5 separate regions of the Homo sapiens genome follow, and regions 1, 2, 3 and 5 are each linked to region 4. The links are contacts of gene promoters, found by promoter capture Hi-C in blood cells and fetal thymus (Javierre and others, 2016). All regions are on one chromosome and are shown on one strand. Each heading gives the region's core, a stretch centred on a gene start or on the middle of the fragment in contact. The rest is flanking DNA. Distances are from core to core; before and after follow the strand shown. Region 1 overlaps ABCB4 (ATP binding cassette subfamily B member 4). Region 2 overlaps ELAPOR2 (endosome-lysosome associated apoptosis and autophagy regulator family member 2). Region 3 overlaps ABCB4 (ATP binding cassette subfamily B member 4). Region 4 holds the start of DMTF1 (cyclin D binding myb like transcription factor 1). Region 5 overlaps RUNDC3B (RUN domain containing 3B).

Region 1 (4,569 bases), core at 1,994-4,493, 290 kb before region 4:
TACTACTTTCTACAATTATCTACCAACCTCACAATTATCTTGCAAATTAGGCATTATTAAATCCATTTTTCATATATGAAACTAAAGTCTGGAAAAATTGAATAAGAACTCATATTCCATAAGTAGTGACTACCTTATAACCTGTATCTAGCTTGACAGATGAAGGTCAGCCTGATTTTTAAAAAAGTCAAAGAGAGAAGCCTATGTTTATGTACAACAACATGTAAAATTTTCATCCCTCACCCAGTGGACAATAGAGGGACGATTTTCTTTTCTCCAGAGAAGAGACATTGACCAGAGTTAAGAATCTAACTGTTTATGAGTTCCAGTGACATTTACAATCAATTCTGGTTTGGCTTGGTTTCTCTCATTCCCTCTTAACCCTGACTTGTGATATTGCCGTGAAGGTGATGGAGAAGCTCTTCCATATCCCAGGGTGAGCCCTCAATTCTGGAATAACCACAGGAATGTTGGTTGGCTTGGAATGGATGAAGGGAAATGGAACCGGGCCAGTAAAGAGAAGGCTTGGATCTGTTCTAGGCCTGGCTGATCCTGAATTAGTTCAATTCCCAAAGATCTGGGTCTCACCATGGGTTCATTACCTTGACTGACTTTGTTACTTAAACCTCCAACTATATAGGAGCCGAGTGTGACTCGGACTATGGATTGTTATTCTTAATTATAATGTTTTCCCTCTCATTTTTCTGGTAGGTATCAGAAACATTTAGAAAATGCCAAAGAGATTGGAATTAAAAAAGCTATTTCAGCAAACATTTCCATGGGTATTGCCTTCCTGTTAATATATGCATCATATGCACTGGCCTTCTGGTATGGATCCACTCTAGTCATATCAAAAGAATATACTATTGGAAATGCAATGACAGTAAGTAGTTCTCCTAACATTTATGAAGAATATGAAAATCTTATTTCTCCATCTACCTTCTCTTTTCTTTGATATCGCTCCTTTTTGAAAGATGAACATGATTATAGGTTTTTGTTTTTGGTGAATCTTTCCACTGTCCAGTGGGCAGAGCTGACTTTCTAGTATATACAAGTCATAATTATGAGTGTGGATAAGAAAATAGCATGTGGTTAGACCATTTGTGAAACATATACAATGTATAAAAGGAAATAAAAATGGGATGAATTTAGGAATAAACAAATATGGATGGGAGCCATCCTCCCTCTGCCGTTGAGTTTTATTGTATAAGAAAGTAAGCATCATTATTACAGAATAGGTCATTGCACAAGAAAATGTTACATTTATATCACTTAAAACAATCAGCTCTCTGAAATACAAGAAGAGATGTTATGTTAGTTTGTTTTTATTTATCAAAATGAAGATAGCTTCATTTTATGATTGTTAAAATAATATATACTAATTTTACAAAGGATTAGGATACAGAATTTTTAAAATTAAAATTACTTACAATCTAATAATTTATATTCTCTTGATGATAATTTTTGGCATATATCTTCCAGGTCATTTTCTATATATATACACATTGTTTTCTTTCAAAACTGGGATCATACTATGTATATCTTTTTGTAACCACATTTATGAACTACCAATATTTTGTGACCATCTTTTCATGTCAGAGACTCAGAACAATATGTAACTATTTAAATAGAAATCTTTTAACATCTGTACTTCCCTATCTTGCTAAAATGAGGATACTGAGCATAATTTGGCCCTTTGATGATGACTTGGGGTCATTATGAAAGTGAATATTTTCAGAATGCTTTATGCAGTGGTATCTTCAGACTTCATTGAGAGGTTGTGGGTGTTCGACTTGGTGAGCCCTCATTAATGCTGAGTCTAATTTTTCTCACTTCCATCTTCTCTCTGGCAGTCGGTTTGGAAGCTTGCTACCCTTTCTTCACTTCCTCATTTACTATTGATGTTTTATGAAGAAGGGAGGTTGAATCCTGACAACCGTTCACCTTTGGTGATGAGTTTGTCCTCTATGGCCTTAATTTCCTCATTTGTAGTATGTGGATAATGACACCTATCCGGTAGGGCTGAGATTGCTATCCCCAGAGGGAGCCCAAGCAAAGCCCTCTGCATAGAGGGCAGGGACTCTATTGCATTAACCTTATGGCAACTATTTTGGTCAACATTATTTTTCTTTCTTACTGGTCCTTATCTGTATTGCAGATGGGGGATAGATATTTAACTGATATTTGAGTTATGGGTAACATGAAGTGTTGCTGTGTTTTGAGAAAAGCCAAATTATATGTAGAAGTTTTACCATGCCCTGAGAGAAAAAAATAATTTATCTTCACTTATGTTTTTCTCAGTTAAGTTATGCTAATAATCTGGATTCCTGAAGCTGTATTCTGAGCTTCTTTATATCAATTCATTTTCCTAGTGAAAAAATACTGTGAAGGGAAATGTGTTAAGTGTTGTATGCTACAGTACAGAATAACTGTGTAAAGGAATTGCTAACCAGTGCACACTGGAGTGATTTTATGTTTTATGATGTGCAAACTGTTACTTTTTATGTTAAAAATCTTTAAAAATATATGTGACATGGTGCTTTTTAGGAGCATTACATAGGGCCAAAATCTGCCATGTTTTATATTGAACCGTCTATGTAATTCCATGCATAGTTAGAGAAAATCATATAGGATGGAATAATAATACTGACTGAAAATGTTTCTTTCTGGTGGCATTTGTGAGTGAGTCAATGAAATAGGTTTGAAAAATCTTTTTAACTCTGTATGTATTCAGGAGAACAATAGGTAGTTTGAGAAAATAGACCCACTCAGGCAATAAAATGCTATATTAGCCTTGCAAATGTTGCTCTTCCACAAAAAAAAAAGGAAAGGATAAACCTAAACTTAATCCTTTATGTACTATGTTACATATACATCACATTTTAGATAATAATGAATGCCAGAATGTGACTTAAACTTTTCCTCATGTTATTTTGCTCAGGTTTTTTTTTCAATCCTAATTGGAGCTTTCAGTGTTGGCCAGGCTGCCCCATGTATTGATGCTTTTGCCAATGCAAGAGGAGCAGCATATGTGATCTTTGATATTATTGATAATGTAAGTCATTTATTATTTTAGTGCCAAAAGAAGTCTTTGAGCTTGTATAATTAAATCTGGCTTTAGTTTGCATATTTTTGAATCAACTACATTGAATAAGTTGTACTGACTAAAGTGACATTTAATTATATGAAATGAATGACCTGTTAGTAATAAATGAAAGAAAATACCTCTTATTAATATTTTTTAAATGTATCTTTAGATAATATAATAATACTGATCTCATTTTGGAAAAGGACATCTGCACTAGTGCAGAGCAAAGACGTTTCTCTTCCTAGTTTTTATCTTTTTCACTTTCATGTTGTAGCCAGACTGAGAATCTTATGATTTCTATATGGGATGGGGGGTAGATAAATTATCGGTGGGACCAAAATTGACAGTATATTTTGCTGTGGGTTCCCCCTCTCCAAAAAATTATCACTGCATGTTTGGTATGATTTTAAATAAACTACATTAAATAAACTGACTACAGTGAAAAAGAAAAAGTTTTGACGTAAAAAAGTAAGTCACTGCATTCAAATATTGCAAGGTAGCTAAGTGAAATTTGATCATTTAATCTAAGCAATTTCCTTTTTCATTGATCCAAGTCGTGAGAAAAGTGCTCAGTTTCTGATTGTATTAAAAGTTTACATTATTTCTAAATAACTGCTATAATCAACCATTCAATCTTCTCAATTCAATCTATTACATTTATTATTTAGGAATGAGCTAATTTTCACTAAATGCTGAAATACTTGGCTATAATATATATCAATTATAGCATATTTTTGTTATTGCACTTGTATAAATATGCATATCTGACCATTTAGAAAATTTATGAGGATATGCCAAAAACTTAAAGGGAAATATTATATGAAATGAGATGAATATCTCTTACGTACTTTTCAGGAAAACACTATTTTCTGAAAAGGAGTATTTCTTTAAACAGCACACATACATATACACACAATCTTCATCTTGGGTTTTTCTTATGTAAAGGGGATTGTGACATTCCAGGTCCTATTTTTGGAATTTGCTGAATCATATTCCTTAAAAATGCAACTTGTTTGTGCTATGATGGAATAGTCATTACATTTTGTTTTATTTAGAATCCTAAAATTGACAGTTTTTCAGAGAGAGGACACAAACCAGACAGCATCAAAGGGAATTTGGAGTTCAATGATGTTCACTTTTCTTACCCTTCTCGAGCTAACGTCAAGGTACTGTAAGTAATATTTATAGGAATTCCTAACTGAGGTTGATTGTTGAATCATTTTAAAGAATAAAGTCTCTATTATTTTGATACTTATGTGCCTTTTCCTTTGGGGGTTATATTCCCTTATTTGATACTTTTTTTTCAAATTTCAAACTGAATCGAATTATTCCCATTTTAGGGCTTTGTTGTGAAGTGTGTTCTTTTTTCTCATTTTCCTTACAGATCTTGAAGGGCCTCAACCTGAAGGTGCAGAGTGGGCAGACGGTGGCCCTGGTTGGAAGTAGTGGCTGTGGGAAGAGCACAACGGTCCAGCTGATAC
Region 2 (5,254 bases), core at 464-2,963, 260 kb after region 4:
AGTGCCGCTCACTCAGCTAGCACACTGCTGAGACAGTTTCTTTTTAATATTTTTAAGTAGGTCAAGGATAAAAATTCCAGATTCACAAAAATAGTTTCTTGTTAATCCTCTTAATAATGATAATGCTTTTTCTACTTCACAATAGAAATTCTTCTTTACCTTTACTCTACAATTTTGATAAACTGCTTATCTTATAATTGTTTTTTAGAGTAAATGAAAAACGAAGCTGCACTCCCTTTGGCTACCAAGTTTAATTCAAGGGTTTTTGAATAGCTGAATGATCTTTTATCCAAACATTCTTTAATATTTCTCTCCTGGAAGGTAATGAATGATGAGAAGGTTAAGACAGTAAATTTGCAACAAATTCTCTAATTTTATTTCATTCAAACTCTCTTCCTTGGTAAGGTCACTTCAACGTATTATAAGATTGTTGAGAATAGATAGTTGCTGTGTGATTCTTTAGTATTTGTTTTTGCCTTTAAAATGATACTTTTTGGATCACTTTGATGTGCTTGACATGTTGAAATTTATAACATACCCCTATAGTTACAAATTTAATTTGAGAAATACTGGAAGTAGTTAAATATATCCTTCTGTTATGCTTAGATACCAGTTTTGGAAATATTTGTCCAAGGAGCTTGAGCTTCAGTTACAAAACTATGAATGTCATTCCTGAGTTCATAGACCTTACTTAATGTATTCCATTGCAACTATAAAAAATTGGTATGATACAGTAAGTGGGAATAGCCACCTCGATCACTGAATAAAATATTTTAAAAAGTCAACTCCTCCGTGAGCTTCATATACAAATGACAAATATTGCTGCATTTTTTATTGTCAGTGAATATATGTGGATTTCTTTGGATACCAAAGCTTCGTGATAGAAGAAAAATAGTTATTGCAAAATATTGCAATGGGTATATTTACATTTTTTAACCATCCCGTTGTGTTTCAGTCCTATTTCCGACACCATCTTTACAATTTTTTACTTTATGTTGATTGAGCGTGCACTTTTCTAATTCTTTAAATATATCTAATACAGGCGCGTATGTTAAATTTATACAAGTCCTCCACATACAGCTGATATAAACAAAAAGAGCCGCACAACTTGTGATAGAAGTGCTCTTATCAAATTGGATCTCCAAAATCTATACTGGGTTCTAAGTGTGTATTAAGCATTACTTCTATATGTCATGCAGCACTAAAGATTTGAAGAGATACTGTGTTATCACTAAGGGGACTGTCTTAAAATTTATCTTTAAATTTATCTTACCCTGCTCACAAGATATTTCTACACACTAGAAGAATAAATTTTTCAGCTGCAGTGTCAGCCATTTTTTGTTTTCCAATGATGTGTGGTTGAATGAATAAGACTTTCTAATTAATAGTTATAGAATTACTAAGAAAAGTTGCCAATAGCTTGATTTTTTTCCATGTCGGTATTTGAGACACTTATTGAAAAGTTAAGCATTCTTGGTTTGCAAGTATTTTTTTTTAATTTTGAAGTTTTAAGATTTTGTTATAAGACTGTCATCAGACAGTAGAGCTTGCTGTTCTCATTGGGCATTGCACATTTGATAAAACCATATCAAAGATGGTACAGTCTTTTTTTCTTGTTAGAATGCACTTGAAATAAAGTCAACATTTGCTGACGAATTTGTTTCTCTCTGTATTGTCATTATTGACACTTAGAGATGCAGCAGATGAATTTGAACATGCCTCAGCATTTCCCACATTACCATTTTTATAAAAAATAATGTGACCCACTTAAAAAGAAATTGATTTGCACTAAGTTTAGGAAACACGTTTCAGTTATAATGTACTAACAAAAAAATCCAGTCACTAATATCCTTTCTAAAAAACATGCTGAAATTTCCTATCCAAAACTTGATTCAAACTTTTCCCCAAAGTGAGTAAGAGTCTCATGTCCCTTTCACTTCATGACTAACTGCAAAATTGTTTGTGTATTTAAATCATAAAAATTAACATTATGGTGTTATTCCTCTGTTAGAGTGTTGATAAAATGACCATCATATACCAGAAAGTTTAATGAGACACGTTAAAAGATTAGTGCCTATATTATTAATGTTGGTGGATAGAATCACCATGCAAATTGCTACTGGTCACCGTACATGTTGAAATATATAACGAACCATATGCTGTACTTGGATTTTCTGTTTTGATCTGCCTATTTGATCTGTCTATTTTAAAAAATTCCTGGTTGAGACCCAGTATATTAATATTTTATTATTCACAATTAGTTGTAACTTGCAGTTTGAAAAACATTGCCCTAAAGGAATTGCCATCTATTTCGGGAGGATGAAAGTAACTGGTGTGGGTAGTGATGACCCAGAATAATGCCCTCCTTATTTTGGCATGGGGAAGAAGGGTGTAGACTGTGTGCCCACTTACACCAGTTACCCAGCCGTGGTGCACCTGTATGTCCCAGGTCTAGGGTCTGTTCTTCCATTCGGAGGACAGGCTTATTGGGAAAATGGGCTTACATGATGGGTGAATGCAACCCATTTCTTAGATTAAGCAACCTAAGCTTTCATTCAAAAACATGAGTAAGATGTTTAAAGGCATCAAAATTAAAAAAAAAAATAGCCCAGAAGGTATGTCCAGATGGAGCCATTTTTATTCAACCTCCTTGGCATGTACTGTACTGCATCCTTCTCAGGTGGCAATCCATCAATCCATGTCTTTATTTGGTTTTTACATTTTTCATTCATTAATTCCTTATTCATTCACATATATTTTTTTCCTGTGTTTCTGGAGCTTTTATTAAATGAATGCTGAATAATCCTCTATGCCTACTGTAAGTAAAGGGTTAGCAAAACCCTTTCTTCTTTTATGTAAGAAATTGACCAGTGACAAATCTAGCTTTCACAGTTGAGTCTGAATTTCATTTCTCATGTCTTCTATGGTTTTATGTTTTTTTTTTTAAAGGAAACCTTGTATGTGTGGAATGAACCTAAATGGTGCATTAAAGGAATTTCTTTGCCTGAGAAAAAGTTGGCAACCTGTGAAACGGTTGACTTTTGGCTGAAGGTGGGAGCCGGTGTGGGAGCTTTTACTGCCGTTTTGCTGGTGGCTCTGACCTGCTACTTCTGGAAAAAGAATCAAAAGTAAGTACCCTCTGAGATGATCACAAGAGAGCTAGAGGGCCTATTTTGTTGTGAAAATTCTAGACTTGATCATTATATCCAATAAATAGATTCTCTCAGAGACACAAGAATTTTCTCCTTGCGAAGAAATCATAGGAAAGGCCTTGAGAAAGCAAGCAGAGGAAACGATTGTTATTCTGACAGTAGAAAGATCATAGAACATTAGAGATCATTGAGTTAGAGTCATTTATTAGAAAACAAGGAAAACAAGAGGCTCCATGTTATTCAGGTAGATGATAGCAGAGCTGAGATTTGGAAGGCAGGTATTCTCTCAGTGTCTGCCTTTTTTAAAAATGATATAATGCTGTCTTCTTCCTTCACCTTTTCTTTTAAAATTTCTTGTGGGAAGACATTTGCAAAAAAAACCAGACCTAGTGTATAGGCAAATATCACATTTATTTACTCCAGGTCTTCAAGTATCTGGAATTGAATATTGAGCCTAATTCCTGAATGTATTTTGATCTCTTATAGGACTTGAATCTTTTAGAATGATTTACACCTCAGTGGGACTGTGGAACTCCTATATTGTAATATCTAGGGACAATTGCAATATCTGGGGTGATAGTATAAAGGAATAAATAATATAGAGAGATGATAAAGACCAAATTACTTGCCTGTTTGATATTCTCATCTTTACGAACTAAATACTGGGAAAACCTTAGTGAATTGGCTTCCAAATATTCATGTTAAGAAAATGCATTCAGGCCTAAAAGTCCCTGCCCCCCAATTTTTTCATTATTGGACAATTCAATGTAAAGTGGTAGAATTAACTCTATTGAACTGATTTCTGACATCCTGGGAAATATTTCTTTGTAAATGGTAGATACATGATAACACACATATTGCTATGGCTATAGGCTAGGGAAATTTGTTGGTGGAGCAATTATACTCCAAGTCAATTTAATGAGCTGGTATATTACCACCTAAAATAAGTATTTATTTATATTAACATAAATGGATACTTATTTGTTTATTTATTTTATCACTATTTAGACTGGAATACAAATATTCCAAGTTAGTAATGACGACTAACTCAAAAGAGTGTGAACTCCCGGCTGCAGACAGTTGTGCTATCATGGAAGGAGAAGATAATGAAGAGGAAGTTGTATATTCCAATAAACAGTCACTACTAGGAAAACTCAAATCTTTGGCAACCAAGGTGAGAGTAGAATTTTAACCTGGTGTTACTGGGTGTTTATAAAGTAGAGGGCATATTAACCTAATAATAGCATTCACGCAAGCTGTTATTTTGCATGTTTATATCTCAGTGGGTATTTATCCAACAGAAATACTCTTAGAAGCACATGATATAGATACAATAATATTCACTGCAGCATTGTTTTCGTTGGTTGTCAAACATCATCAGTAAGGAGTTAGATATTTTCATCTGTCAAAGTGATAGAATACTATGCAACTCTGCAGCTGTTAAAGATTGAGATAGCTATGTGTACTGATAAATCAATAGGTCCAAGATAGAGTGAAAACAAATGGACTATTGTATTTATATTAAATATACATTTATGTTTGTATTTGCATAGCAAACTGTTAACAGTGGCTGCCTTTTGGGAATAGTGAACTAATGAGAGTGTTTAGTCTTTGAAAGCAATACATTTTTGTGATATTGGAATTTTCACAAAGATACTATTTTATAATATAAAAGTGGGGGCTAATAAAAGATATTACATTCATTCATACTGTTCCTTTTTTATGACAAGATTGTTTTACATAGAGCAAACAAAAGTTATATAAATTATTGAGGTATGTGAGGTAAAATATTGCTGGCTTTGGATTTTGGAACAACTACCATATCCAAACATAACATGAAACCATACATTGTTTGAAAAGACATTTTATTTGATATTTTTCACCATTGACTTAAAAGATGAGAAATTATCAGCTTACTTAAGATTAAAAAAGAATGAAATAGAAGAAAGAAGATGACTTTCAAATGATTTATAACAGGATAGACAAGAGACAAAATTTACATTTATAAAGAGTAATAGTAACCATTTCCTTGTACTCTCCTAATTTAGGCACATAAATATAGGGAATTATTTAAGAGTAAAAATGAATAAACCGTCTTTCCC
Region 3 (5,071 bases), core at 319-2,818, 270 kb before region 4:
AGTACCCTGATTGTTCCCCAATCTGAGTGCAGGTGGAGCTGTGACCAGGAACCAGCATACTCATTTGGATCTTGTTTCTAAGGTCATCCTTCCTTTACACTGCATGAGCCAAAATGAATTCGTGTGTAGGACTTTGTTACTTCTGTATTTAACTGGTTTATTGGAAGTAGTAGGAACACACTGAATTTTGTAGTTAAACACAGTATCTTTGTCACTGAGATGTTGTCCTTCAAAGTTTTGAAAAATAAACCTATTTAGAATGGTTTAGAAGCCAGAACTGGACACCTTTAAGATTTTTGGCCTTTGATTGTAATGCATACTGATGATTTTGCAGTACATGAATTTGACGTGGGGGCTTTGAATTCGTATTTGGTCCTGGACTTTTGTTATTTAAATAGTTAACATACAAATAATGTAAAATCAATGTGAATATAGGCACCTGTGTCAGAATACTAGCAACTGTTACCCACACAACGGGCAGGTTTGGTCACTTGGTGGGTTTCAACCCAATGACCACATCAAGGAGGATTTAGCAAAGGAATTTTATAACTTGTCACAAGTGAGAAGCTCACAGAGCTTAGTTCCCAAAGCAGTATCTCCCCAAGCTGGAGGCTGGGTCAGGTTTTATAAGCGTATGGTAATGAAGTGTGATCTGATTGGATCTTGCAATGAAGTGATGCCGGGAAGCACCATCTGACTGGATCCTGCCATGGGGTGGTGTCAGAGCTCAATCTGATTGAATCCTGCATCCTGCCATGTGGTGTCTGCTTCTTAATTCAGTCCCTGATTCTTGTTTCGGAGCACTTAGGTTCCTGCTATGGTTGCATGCTTGATTCATCTGGGGCTGCTCAGGTTATTAACATGACTTGAGGATCCGTGGCAACTGTAAAACAACTCATAACTTTGCTACATAAAAGTTGAACATGATTGGTCTGGTGCAATTACATACATAAAGATCAAAAGAGACCATAGCCTTTTTTCTCAACCAGGGTTTCACGTTTGGGAAAGCTGGCGAGATCCTCACCAGAAGACTGCGGTCAATGGCTTTTAAAGCAATGCTAAGACAGGTAGGAGTGTGCGCTGGAGAATGCCTTCTGATCTTTCACATTTCTTCCATATTAAGCTTCTTACTGTTCTTATTGTTATGTCGATATGCATGTTTTCCCCCCAGGGTATTCACGCAAGGATGGGGCAGAGTCCTGCAAATTGTCCTGGTCCTTCAAGAGCTAAAGACTTCTCATGTTTTTTTTGTTTTTTTTTTGTTTTTGTTTTTTTTCATAGAAATAGGCTTTATTTGGGTAGCTTTGGCTTATTCTGTAAATATCTCTCTCCATGTAGACACTATCATTTCGAAGACCTGTATCTCTTTTCTGGATCCTGTGCAGGCCCTGGTGAGTCCATTGAGACTCCAGGATGTCTTTAAACCAAGAAAAACCTAGTTGATAGCATTTAATCTCATGTACCACAATCTACCATACTAACTGTAGGTATCCTCAAATGTTAATAATTGAGTTTTGTTTATTTCTTATTTGAGGTCTATTTTCACATTAATTCACTTGTTTGTTTATTCAAACATTACTTATCATGTACCAGACACTGTGCTGGTGGCTGGTACTGTATAATCCATTATTTGCTCTCCTCGTAAGTTCACATTCTAGTGCCTGACATAGGAAAATATGCAAACATGAATTATCTATTTTTATAGAAAATGCCTAAGAGAGGGCCAGAATATTATCCATTCAATTGACAGGAACTGATTACATTTCTGTTCACAAATGGGCACATAGTAGGTAGTATATTCTGATTAAATCTGTCTACAAATCCTATTTCAGTATCTCCTAAACTCTTGCTATGCAGGAAAAATTATTTTATGTGAAGGTAAAAGATGCCATGGATGAGTAGCTTACAATTAAAATTAAGTCTCAGACATGCTTCTTTTTTTATCCCTGTGGCTAACTGGAGATCAGACACACTTTCAATCAGTGTTTAACAAAAAATCAAACAAAAGCTTGGTGAGAAACCAGTGCTTATTTTCTCCTGCCTAGAATCTATCAGAACAACATGTCCAAGACAGCTCCACCACCCTTTATGAGAGACAACACCATATCAGGGCAGAAGTGTCCATAGTGAAAGACCTGATGATTGGGTGAATGGAATGCCTACCAGCCTCCCAGCCTTGGGAGGAGCTGGCAAGGAGCATGGCAGCCATCTGGGTGAGCCCTGCCCCCCTAGACCAGAGATGCCCTCCCTGCTACCACAGAGCAGTCAGGAAGCTGGGTTCTGCTAGATTCTGGGGGTGTGTGCTCAGAGCAAGGCCAGGGACTCTACACTGCATATGAGGTCTCCCCTAAATTTCCTCAGCATTGGAGCTTTGGGAGGCTTTGTCTGGTTTTCTTTGCTTGTTTTAATTTTGAACTAACATAAACGTGTATTTTATGCCATAGGACATGAGCTGGTTTGATGACCATAAAAACAGTACTGGTGCACTTTCTACAAGACTTGCCACAGATGCTGCCCAAGTCCAAGGAGTAGGTAGACTGCACTCTACTTGTAGTTTTTTACATAACATGGTTTTAGATAAGCATGTAGCATACCCACACTTGTTAAGATGCTTCCAGCTAGAAATAGCAGAAAGCTCAAATCAAAACTGCTGTAAACAATAAGCAGAAGATTAAACTTCAAGGTTGATTGACCCACTGCCCCCTCCAGATTTAATCCAGAATCCAGGTTCCCTCATTGGCTTTGGCTTTATCCCAAGGCTGATTCCCTGCAGTCACAGGATGGCTGCTAATAGTAATTAGAACTACAGGCTTCCTTATTTCCCATCCAGTGAAAGAGAGCACACACCTCTACCTCAACCACCAAACAAAAACCCTTTGCTGAAATCTAATTTGGGCTAATTTGGGTCACATGCCCCACCCTGAACCACTGTCTCCAGGGGATGGTGGTGTTCTGAGTGGCCTACGTCCCCCACCCCTTTAGCTGAGGTGGGTTACTTTGCAGCTCACTGCTTCCACACAACAGGAGAAGGAGGAATGGATGCAGAGAGCTGACTGCAATGTTGCTACAGCCACCTTTGTTTTCTGAGTGGTACAACACTAATTCATCCTTATATGTGCTTTGTGGTGGATGTCTCTTAGGACACGTACCCTTTGTAACAACAGATGGTCTCTTTCCCTTTTACACTTTTGAATTAAATGGTCTTTAAAATTACCCAGGTACATTGGAGTTAGTTTCCTCTTTGAACATTGCATCTATGAAAAAATACATGCACCCCCAGTGCCCATCCACAAAGCAGAGAAGTTGATTACTTGGTTCTAGAATGTTGGTTCAGGTGGGCAGGAGAGGAATGAGAGTGTAAAGGCACAATGAAGAAATGTCTGCAGAGCCTCATGAGTTAAGCACAGGTGTTGTGGGTTTATTGTAATGAAAGTAAGCCAATGTAGCTCAGGCATAGAACCCACTCATCATTCTGACCAAGAGGCTAAGGCTGGAGCGCATGCATTTGGAGCTTAAAACTACAGTTGCTTTGTGCTTTTTCTCTCCCAGGCCACAGGAACCAGGTTGGCTTTAATTGCACAGAATATAGCTAACCTTGGAACTGGTATTATCATATCATTTATCTACGGTTGGCAGTTAACCCTATTGCTATTAGCAGTTGTTCCAATTATTGCTGTGTCAGGAATTGTTGAAATGAAATTGTTGGCTGGAAATGCCAAAAGAGATAAAAAAGAACTGGAAGCTGCTGGAAAGGTAGGTCAAATAAGATTTCAATTGGTGTTAAGTGTTGTTTTTAGACATGTGTTTTATTTGAATTATTTATCATGATATGCAGGCTTTAATAATTAAATGTTTGTGCCCACTACAACTAATAATTGTCAATTGTGTATGAAATATTTTACTGTATTAATGTCTAGAACTTAAATATAAGGTGATTAACATAAAACGTTGAGCCTATAGAAAGCACTTAACATAGTTATGATAAAGAACTTCTGAATATTCAAAGTGCATTTCATTTTACTTCATGTCCAAATGCTACTGTTTGGACAAATGTCATCCCTGTTTCACAAACCTTCATGCAGAAGACTGTAAGTGAATTGTTCAGGGTCGGACATGTGCTGGCATTTAAGAGATCCTCTTCTTTTTGGCTGTGATTTCTATAATTAAGATGGCAGCCACCAGATGGCAGTAATGCCTCAATTTTGTGGTTCTCACTATAATGGCAATTGGGCTTAACATTTACTTGAGCCTTACTACGTGCCAGTTATTGTGCTACATATTTATATGCACCAATTTATTACATCTTCACAATAATCCTATAAGGCAGGCACTATTGTTATCCCAATTTCAGAAATACAGAACCTGAGATTCAAACAGAAGTTAGAGATTTGGCTGGGATTTAAGTTCAGGTCTAGTTTCAAAGCTCTTACCTCTACTATATGGTCTCTTTATATGTGTTTAAGTGTCTAAATCTACACATAAACATTTTATTTACAAGTACATGCACTGAAATGTTCACATGTAGATTATAACCATGAACATTCTTAGTCTTATTTATGTAATTATTATCCTTTATTGAAACATGAGGAAGTGAAGCAGATAATAAATATAAATTGTGATATAGGTTTTATAGCATTGCACTTTACAAAGCCCTTTTACAAGCATTACTGCAACTGACCTTAACTAGTTATGAGAAGTGGAACAGACAGTATCTCTATAGGGAAGAAGGCGTCAGAGACTGGGTGAGTGACTAGCTTCAGAGGCACCATATTAAGAGGGAAGATTAACATTCGGACTAACCATGTTTCCACTAAACCAATTATGTCTGGTGAAATCCTTTCTTGTCCTCTTGTAATCAGCATCAGCTGCCGCTGCATGCAGCGTTAGGTATAATAGTATCTCCAGGTTTCCATCAGAATTCACTCTCCTCATTTTCACGCTGCATCCTCTCCAAGACTTGGAGCTTGCTAGGACAATATGTGGTTCCCAGGACTTGGGAACCCCTGGGTGTCTAGAGTTCTTGAAGATTCTCTTGGCTGCTGGCTGTGGGTACTTTAGGGCATCATTTCCT
Region 4 (4,575 bases), core at 506-3,005:
ATTCTCACACCAAATTGGATTCTCTCAGCATGACAATTTTTGTAACGTTAAGGAATGTAGCTTTAACCTTTTTTCTCTAAATCTTAACAGAATTTCTAAATCCTAACCAAATACATGAAATCCTGTCTCTAAGTACACCATAAGAGCAAAAAGATAAGATTTTGGTGTATCGCCATAGTCATTCTTTAAATGTTAAAGTGATGGCAAATTATTCAAGTTATTAAAAGACAGTAATCCTCAGAAAGCTATTTGAAATATAATTTCAAAACCAGCTTAAAGAAATTTGAAGTAATGAAAAAACATGAAAACCCTTAACTGAAAAAAACAGATTTTGCAATACTTTCAACATAGTGGAAGAATATTTTCGTATTTGGAGCTTAAAAGCTACAAATGGTTTTCTCCCACGAATTAAAAATACAGGTATAATTTAAAATTTTCCAAATGGCGTCACTTTAAGCTTAAGACATGTCATATTAAAAAATAATTCCACAGAATATGCATTTTGTAGGACGTCCCAACATGCAGCCTCGACTGTCAGAAAGGAGGCACACATAATCAAATCCATGTACATTAAAAAGAGGTACACAAAGATGAATGAGTTGCGAAAAAAGCAACTACACAAATTCAATGAGAGAAAGGGAGGAGTCCTGACTCATACTGTATACTATTATCCTTTTCCTTATCTACACCGAGTATTTTATATAAAGACATATGCTCTATCATTCAATTGCACAAAAGGGCACTTGGCCACTTCTACTCTCAAATCTGCTCTGGAGATTGTGGTAAAACATTCTACATACCTCCCTGAAGAAATTCTCAAAGCGAAGTACATTTTAGAGAACAAAGTGGACTTAACAATTTTAAGAACTTTCTCGGAACTCGGCACAATAGGGTAATTACAACTTTACAGCCGCATTTTCCGTGCTCCACCAGGACTGTCCCCGCGCCCCAGCCCACATCCCTTCTTTAAAGAGAGTCAGACTGAGAGAGACGGTTCGGCCAGCTATCCCGATTCTCTATGTCTGGGCCGTGAATCGCCGAGCAAGGCTGAACCCCCGCAAAATTACAGAAGAATCTAAAGCGCAAACGAGGGAAAAGAACAAAAAAGCAAAGGGGGGGAAGTTGGGTCGAGACCCACCCCCACTCTCTCGACCCCACCCAAGCCTACCTCTCCTACGCTGGACCATAAAACAAAACCGAAAACGTAACAAAAATAAAAACTAAAAATAGAACACCACGAGAAAACAAGTAGGGCTTCCTTACTGTCTCCACTCCTTCTGGCCCAGTTCTCTACTCAACCTCCCGGCCCACCCCACCCCCCAGGGGTCCCGGCGCCATTTAGCTCCTCCGAAGCCGCCGCCATTTTCCGCCCCCGCCGGATCGCCGCTGTGCCTCGGCAGCCGCTCGCTTCCCTACTCTGCAGCCTGAGCCACGGGCACCGCCCGGCCCTAAGAGGGAGGCCCTGGCCGGAACGTGCGGGGACGGCAGCTGCAACGTCAGGAAGGCCAGGCTCCGACCCCGCCCGCAGTGCCCCGGCGCCGACAGCTTGCGCCAGCCGGCGGGAGCTAGCGGGCAGCAAGGGGGCCGGACAGGCTCCACTGGGCGGAGCGGCCCTGGCGGCGGTTGGAACCTGAAGGTTCCATCGCACTTACTTCCTGTTTTGGGTCCGGGCACTTTGGAAGAACCAGGATGGAAGCTCCAAAAAATACCAGGATGGAGGAAGCAGCCACGGGCGAGAGTGGCTGCAGCTGGAGTGAGCGAGCGCGACGAGCCACCGGAAACGGAGCTGCGGCCGCGCCCCGCCCCCAGCTCCCCGCACGCTGCCCCTCCCGCTCGTCTGTCCCGCTGGCGGCCCAGCGTGCTGGCTGTACGCGTCACTTCCGGCTGTGTCGGCGCGCGAAAAAAGGTCCTGGGTTGGAATGTTTGTACTGGTCTGTGGCGGTGGTTGTCGGCTGTCCTGCCAGGAAAACTCGGCACTGACTATCCCACTGCTGATGCTGTAAAAGAGGTCCTTCTGCTATGACGCAACTGTGGTTCCTCTGGTTCTGGGGACACTTAGGCCTCGCGTGCCGATTTTCATAGTTCCCTGTGGCTCCGAGCCGAGGGAGCCGCGGTGTGGAACGGAGGGAACCAGTGATCTCAGTGCTGAAGAAAACAGGGAGTGTGTGTCTTCATACTTGATTTGCCTTACCGCAGGGGCATAATATGAGATATCTGGGCGTGTTAAGTCGTTCTTGATGAAATGTGTCCTCTGTGAATGTAGTCTCACTGTTAGACTAGGAAGATGCTGTTTTGCTGTGCCCAGTTCCTCTTAAAAGTACAGATGCTCCTTGGGTTGCAGCCGTATAAACCCATCCTAAATAGAAAACGCGTTTTAATACCCTTATAAACGAAAAGGATAAATAAGCCTTTGGGTTCTGTAATGTGAGCCAGCATTCTTTGAGTGCGTATGTGACAGGTAAATGTTTTACGTATATTAAACTCATTTAATGTTCATAAGTTCTAAGTGCATCGCTACAATTATTACAAATGAATCCCATTTTACACAGGAACCAAAGAGAAGTGAAGGAATGTGTCCAAGGGCTCCCAAGTTGGCGGTGGAATTAGAATTGAAGCCTCAGCTCCAAAGCCTGTGTTCTGAACTACCCGGTTGCAGTTCACAAAATACACTTTGGCAGTACTTTCATAACGAAAACAAATGATTACAACCAGTTTACAAATGCTTTGCTTTACTGGAGGATCGACATGTTTGACTAATTTTCAAAAATAAATCTCAGAAGCAGCATTTTCTTGTGTTGATAACTTTATTACTAATTTGTGGCACTCTGCATTCTGTTGGAGTTAAGCCGTGTATCATTCCATTTTTTAATAAGTACATAATAATGTTTATGTAAGCAAAACTATGAGGCAGAATAGTATCGTGGTATGGACTCAGGCAGTCAGACCTGAGTGTGAATCTTGGCTCCATTTCTTAGTAGTGGATATGGCACTTCACCTCTTTTAGCTTTGTTTACTTTAGGAGTAATAAGATGTACCTTCCAGAATATTGTAGACAGCGTAGTTTGCATGGAATCTGACGTGTATTAAGCATTAAAAATGGTAACTAATAAACCTTAAAGCCAGGAAAGCAATACAACTACTCAAAGAGCAGTTCTAATAAAATAATAATTACATATGCAAAATTGTTGACATTAACATTGATAAGGTGGTTCCTAATGAGCCATATTTTTCATAAGACATAACCATATAGGATTATTTTTGCTAAGGCACAAAATAGTGATATATAAATTATAGTCGGGCTATCCATTCTCCTCTGCTAAATTTTAGGTCAGCCTGCACGCTGCTAACTCCCCGCAAAAAGTCAAGTGCATCCTCATAACTAAATTCTCCCTTTCTGGTTGAGTTTCTTTTATAACTACCTTTTCCCAAGTCAATTGGTATTTATTTGGGGATGACAAATGTATTTTAATATTAGCTTAATGCATAATTTAAAAAAATATAATAACGTCTCTATCCCTTTAGCTTGAATAATCAATGTAAAGACTATCCATAACACAACTTGATTCCTAGAGCAATTTTCTGCAGTTATACTTCTATGTTATCCGTACCTCATTATTTAGTCAATGTGTACCTAGGGAATGGATGAGGTTTTAAATATTATCCAAGGATTTACCTATTTAGGAATTAAATGTTTTGTAGAAAAATCATTAGAAGTATTTCTATCCTAAACAATAATTATTAAAGTATTTATAGCTTAGCTATGGTATTTACTGCATTTGCTAGTTAAAATTGACTTTGTTGGACTCCAGGTGTCTATAACACTTTTGTGAACCTCATCAGTGATTGATGATGAAATTGCCTTTTATGACAGGTTGATATATTAATATAAAGTATTTCAAATACTGAGAAGCAGGTTCTGTTGTTTCATGATCATCTTTTGCTAATTCAGAAAAAAAAAAGATGTTTATAAGCTTTTGTTCAAAGTAAAAGAAAATTACAATTACTGAGTAATTTTCTTTCTACACAGGCTCTGAGTCCTGTTAATATAGCTGATGGGTATACACTGTAGGGCCTTCCAGCTGATGGAGATTGCTGTGCTAATGGAGGAATGAATAAACTGTCCCAGTTATGCCCACACACCAGGCTTTACCAGGTGGTCTCCTGTCTCAGATTCTTCCTGTAGGCTTCCCTCTGGGCCTTATGACACTCCATCTTACAATCCTTTTCCCGCCTTGCATTTTGCCTATGTGTCTCATCTCTGCAATCCTTTTAATACCTCAGCCTGGTGACAACCTCTCTATATCCACTTCACTTTTTTCTTCTTTTGTGGTAAATCTTTGTTGAGACCTATTGATAGAATATTAGCCAGAAAAGTGTTTCCTTATCAAGGGAATGGAGAGCTAAGGCGTCCAATACTCCTAGCCAATAAGGATAAAAATTTTTGTTCTGTCTTTGTAATTTTGGTGTGCAAAACAAAACAGTTCAGATACTTCACTAAAACAGGATAATATCCAGACCCAGACTCAAAGACCTGTTCCTTTATAATCTAGCATGGAAGAGAGAGGGACAATGTAT
Region 5 (4,888 bases), core at 1,107-3,606, 480 kb before region 4:
GAATCTTTCCAATATACAACTGGGTAAAAGCAGTTGGGGATAGAAGAGTGTGGAGCAATGCAGTCTACATACCCAATTCTCTCTGATGCTTTGGACTGACCCAGGGATATATTTTATAAACCTGTAAGAGGGAATAGAAGAGTGGGTAAGCTTCAAACATTCCCCCTTGAATATCATCTCTCAACTGAAATTTTGACAATTATCAAGCAGCAACAGCAAAGTTAAAATAAATACCCCCTAGTAAAGGACTGGGGGATAGCTAGTCTCTGTTGTCAATTAATATGAATGCAGTTTGGTTGGGGGAAGAGAAAATGACCTTTTGTGAATGCTGAAATGTCTACTCTAGGACTAGTCGTTGAAAAGAGGATCATCCTACCTCCATTGTGCGCATCTACTAATTAGAGCATGAAGAATCCTTAGAAATATTTAATAATACTGAACCTGCTTCCAAGGTATATAACTAATGTTGAATCCAAACTCAAACTCAAAGTTCTACTACATATAAAATGACTGAAAGAGTTTTAGCCAAAAATATTATAATCACTATAGCCAAGGTATGAACAGTCTTATGAGGCATACTCAAGCATATTCAACCAAATAGTAACAAAAAAAGTAAATCACTGGATTTAAAGTTCTTTTTTTTTTCTTTTTTTTTTGAGACAAGAGTCTCACTCTTTCTCCCAGGCTGGGGTGAAGTAGTGAATCTCGGCTCACTGCAACCTCCGCCCCAGGGTTCAAGTGATTCTCCTGTCTCAGCCTCCCGCTGGAATTACAGGTGCCCCCCCCCCCACCCCCCACCACCACGCCTGACTGTTTGTATTTTTAGTAGAGACGGGGTTTCACCATGTTGGCCAGGCTGGTCTCGAACTCTTGACCTCAGGTGATCCATCTGCCTCAGCCTCCCAAAGTCCTAGGATTACAGGCATGAGCCACCACACCCAGCCAACAAATTTAAAGTTCTTTAAAGGATTATGCTGCAATCTGTATATGGTTGGTCTGCCCCCATCAAATGACATGTTGAAATTTGATCTCCAATGTGATGGTGTTGGGAGGTGGGGCCTAGCAGGAAGTATTTGGCTAATCATGGGGGTGGATACTTCATGAATGGCTTGGTACTTATCACCCACTAGTGAGCCAGTTCTCACTCTAGCAAGGCTGGATTGGTCTCAAGGAAGAATGGATCAGTTCCTAGAAGAGTAGGTTGATAAAAAACCAGAATGCCCTTTGGGTTTGGTCTCTCTTCACACCTGCCTGCTTCCCCTTTGACTCTCTCCACCATGTTTTGATGAAGCACAAAAGCCCTCACCAGAAGCTCAGCAGATGCCGGGGCCACGGTTTTTGTACAACCTACAGAACTGTTAGCTAAATAAACCTCTTTTCTTTATAAACTACCCCACCTCAGGTATTCCTTTATAGCAACACAAAACAGGATAAGACAGATTATACTGTCATTAATATTCAATAACATTTCACATATCTGCATTTCTCCCACCAAGTTCAAGCATAGACTAGACAGTTTTTCTGATTAGTTAGCACCAGAATGTTAAGAAGTTCAGAGTTCTAAAGCTCACTAAACTTAACTCAGGCCTCTGGGTGCTTTTTAAAAAAAAAAAAATTAAACACCTGATAAGTTTAGTTATATACTTTCCCAGGTCACAACCAATTATAATCTGCAAGTCAGAATGGGAAGTACAAAGAAAAGAACTGCTAGAAATAAAAAGAGTTGTAAGAAATAACAAATAACTTGGTAGGAAGAAACAGAAGGATGCAAAAGCTCAAAGAACTCCAAACACATAATCTTCTGGGGCCACTTAGGCAAAAGCTCTACATGCTGCAAGAGTCTCCAAGGGCAACCACTGCACAGTGGGCATATTCATAGAGGCAGATTCAGAGTAAAGTCATCAATAAGGATTACATTATTCTATGTATAGTCTTTGTCAAGAAGGTAGGGAAACGTGTAATCATTTTTTAAAGCAATCCATCCAAAATATTGTAAATATTATGTGTTGTGGATTAAACTTGTGCGCTTAAATAAATTTCAGTTATACAAATCCTGCGCTCCAAAATAAATGCTGAGTAAAGCACTACAGTTGATGAAGGATTTTAAGCTTAACTCAAATATTAGTTATGTATAAAAATATAAGCTTCTCATTCCTTGACTATAATGGAAAAACTGAGGTGCTAATGTAATTTGAAATAATATTCAAGTTCTGAAATAATATCATGACCTATAGAAAACTAAGACTATTCATATGTTATTAAAAACACTTGAATTGTGAAATCATCACTTGTCTCCACCGTGCTTATCACACTACTCCTTATATTCCTCTTATTAGTCCCTCCTAGCTACAAAACAGGAAAATTATGACTTTGCATGGGAAGTTTCTCTTAAAAGTATTGACTTAAAAGTTTGACAAGTGTTATTCTGAAATGTTTATATGTGCATATTTTAATAATTTGCTCATAAGACATTGTTAAGCCATAGAAAGAGAATTTAGATTTTAATACTCTGCCACCAAAACCAAAATCAAAGGACTATATAAGGTTTTCTGTAAACAATGAAGCTTATAAAGGACAGAAAAAATGACTAATATCTGATTATCTATGGATAAAAATGCAAGTTAAAAAAATCTGAAGGGCGTTAACAACTTAATTTTCTGAAGTTCTAAACGATAGAGAATATACAGGGAAAATACTAGTTGGTTCTCAGAGCCAAAGTCAAGTGTATGAATATTTTGAAGTTGAGTGTGTAAGATTTAGAGTCCTCAAATGACCTACTATCTCTTCACCAAAATCTGTGAAAAATATGAAAAAACAGTACTTATCTGATGAAATAAGGACTATGCAAATGTTTTTAGTCTACAACATGTAAATGTTCACTAAAAAAAACTAATGAATTACATACACATATACAATCACACATGAGCCAAAATTCAATTCAGCTCTTTATCTGATTATCTTACCTATCTAAACAACCCACTTTCAAAGCTCAAAACTATATATTGCACTTGAATAAAGCTTTAAACATAAAGAATTGTGTACTCACATAAGAAGACTTTAAACCTAAACTGAGAATACACCTAAATTGTTTAAGGGGTAAGGAAAAACATTACTGTGAAAGTATAAGTGGATACACTAGAATGATATATGCTGGTGACTTTTTTTTTTTTTGGTTTTGTAAATGGTTCAATTTTTTCCAGAACATCAGCAGAGAATTACAAAATCAAAGGCACAGTCCAAAATATTTTTGTTTATAGAGAAAAATGCACATACGTAATTTAGCTATTATAAACATTTATCTTATCATTATTACCCTGCTCATATTTGGAAAAATTCAAAACTAAATATAAACATTTTTTGCTTGGAGGCTATTATTAATTTTAAGCCTATAATTGAAGGTTAACAATGATCTAGTCCAATATTATTTTACAGACAACAAAAATGAACAAATGGAAAGGTTGCATGGCTTGTAAAAGTGCACACTAGTTAATGATAAAGTCAACCTAGAACCCAGTTATATTTCCACCAGATCAACTTCTTTCCAACTTAAATATCAAATCATCTCTGATTTGAGATATAAAAATAAAGAGGCCGGGCGCAAGGTGGCTCACGCCTGTAATCCCAGCACTTTGGGAGGCCGAGGCGGGCGGATCACGAGGTCAGCAGATCGAGACCATCCTGGCTAATACGGTGAAACCCCGTCTCTACTAAACAAAACACAAAAAATTAGCCGGGCGTGGTGGCGGGCGCCTGTAGTCCCAGCTACTCAGGAGGCTGAGGCAGGAGAATGGCGTGAACCCGGGAGGCGGAGCTTGCAGTGAGCCGAGATCGCGCCACTGCTCTCCAGCCTGGGAGACAGAGCGAGACTCCGTCTCAAAAATAAATAAATAAAAAATTAAAAAAAGAATTCATAAGAGACATGAGTGAAATACCCAGGGTTTGGTGACTCTGGAAAGTAAACTAGCAATAAATGCATAAATACTGCTTTATTCATTTTTCTTAATTTGTCATGGGGATACTTAAAATGTACAAATGGCCTATAGTGACTTTCTTCCAAAAAGTAAAAGTCATTCAGACAAAGCCTATCATATAGACCCCATTACTACACATGGATAATTTACATGCACCATCAACTATTTGGATCTGAAAAACAGCCTTAATATTATCCATATAAATAACAATACAAATGAAATCCAGAGCAGAAACCACAACTTATTTTAGCTATTACACTAAATCTATGTGTAAACTGTAACTAAAGTTAGCACATATTCATTTCACAGTAGAAAATAATAATTATGTAAATTACAATCATGAAAATACAACTAATACAGAGAGCTGTCCCCAGAAATCAGTGTGACGTTCCTAAAATTTCTTAAAGATAATTTAAAATTTAGTTTAAATAAGGTTGAAATACAAATCCTTTTCTTTTCAACTGTCTCTGATAAGGGCACACATGATCATTACATGACCTAAAGCCAGCCAAGACAAAAATGGAGAAGCAAAAGGAACAGTACCCATCACTGAAATTATTCATTCAATAAATATTTTTTGAGTGTTAGATGCTATACTGAGAATTTGAAAGAAAAAAAAAAAAAGACTAAGCAAAAAGCAGATAGAATCACTGCCCTTGTGAAGTTTAACAAAAGCTGATAGAGCTTTTATTAAATATGTTACCCCCCAAGAAGCACTGTATATGTTGAAACTACCCTTATTTTTAAAGCAATTTTTGATGTCTGTATATTATGGTTAAGAAAATCAGCCTTGCTTATGGTTCCATTTACCTACTTTAAAGATATTTACCTATATTTTAAAACACCTAACAGCCTATTTGTCTCAAAAAGTTACATCCTAGACAGCACAAACGGCAAATTAAACGGATACCATATTA

Evidence for each region. The method cuts DNA at HindIII sites, captures the fragments that hold promoters and counts their contacts. A CHiCAGO score of 5 or more calls a contact.
Region 1: a contact is called between a fragment that was not itself captured here and the fragment with the promoter of DMTF1 in region 4, in 1 of 17 cell types (total B cells). The highest score is 5.3, in total B cells.
Region 2: a contact is called between a fragment that was not itself captured here and the fragment with the promoter of DMTF1 in region 4, in 2 of 17 cell types (non-activated CD4 T cells and total CD4 T cells). The highest score is 6.7, in non-activated CD4 T cells.
Region 3: a fragment that was not itself captured here is called in contact with the fragment with the promoter of DMTF1 in region 4 in 2 of 17 cell types (total B cells and non-activated CD4 T cells); the score reaches 5.9 in total B cells.
Region 5: a fragment that was not itself captured here is called in contact with the fragment with the promoter of DMTF1 in region 4 in 2 of 17 cell types (total B cells and fetal thymus); the score reaches 5.5 in total B cells.

What each region holds. Positions count from the first base shown.
Region 1 is chr7:87,443,348-87,447,916 of GRCh38, reverse strand. ABCB4 (ATP binding cassette subfamily B member 4) reads left to right here. Exons shown (of 28, transcript NM_000443.4): 9 at 712-883; 10 at 2,942-3,055; 11 at 4,144-4,254; 12 at 4,473-4,569. Among named protein-coding and RNA genes, the nearest start is that of ABCB4, 30 kb to the left of the region's middle. The HindIII fragment of the contact is 2,752 bases long and covers 1,868-4,569 here.
Region 2 is chr7:86,890,796-86,896,049 of GRCh38, reverse strand. It overlaps ELAPOR2 (endosome-lysosome associated apoptosis and autophagy regulator family member 2), which reads left to right. Exons shown (of 22, transcript NM_001142749.3): 20 at 2,950-3,128; 21 at 4,161-4,326. Among named protein-coding and RNA genes, the nearest start is that of GRM3-AS1, 90 kb to the right of the region's middle. The HindIII fragment of the contact is 1,675 bases long and covers 876-2,550 here.
Region 3 is chr7:87,415,994-87,421,064 of GRCh38, reverse strand. It overlaps ABCB4 (ATP binding cassette subfamily B member 4), which reads left to right. Exons shown (of 28, transcript NM_000443.4): 19 at 990-1,067; 20 at 2,445-2,528; 21 at 3,550-3,753. Among named protein-coding and RNA genes, the nearest start is that of ABCB4, 57 kb to the left of the region's middle. The HindIII fragment of the contact is 885 bases long and covers 1,126-2,010 here.
Region 4 is chr7:87,149,633-87,154,207 of GRCh38, reverse strand. It overlaps DMTF1 (cyclin D binding myb like transcription factor 1), which reads right to left and starts at 1,755. Exons shown (of 18, transcript NM_001142327.2): 1 at 1,653-1,755. It overlaps DMTF1-AS1 (DMTF1 antisense RNA 1), which reads left to right and starts at 1,715. Exons shown (of 2, transcript NR_136253.1): 1 at 1,715-1,906; 2 at 2,550-2,785. RefSeq lists enhancers at 1,560-2,121, 1,967-2,206, 2,122-2,685. The HindIII fragment of the contact is 3,514 bases long and covers 460-3,973 here.
Region 5 is chr7:87,630,396-87,635,283 of GRCh38, reverse strand. The region is part of intron 1 of RUNDC3B (RUN domain containing 3B); the gene reads right to left. It also overlaps a transcript of ABCB1 not described here. Among named protein-coding and RNA genes, the nearest start is that of RUNDC3B, 4.4 kb to the right of the region's middle. The HindIII fragment of the contact is 420 bases long and covers 2,147-2,566 here.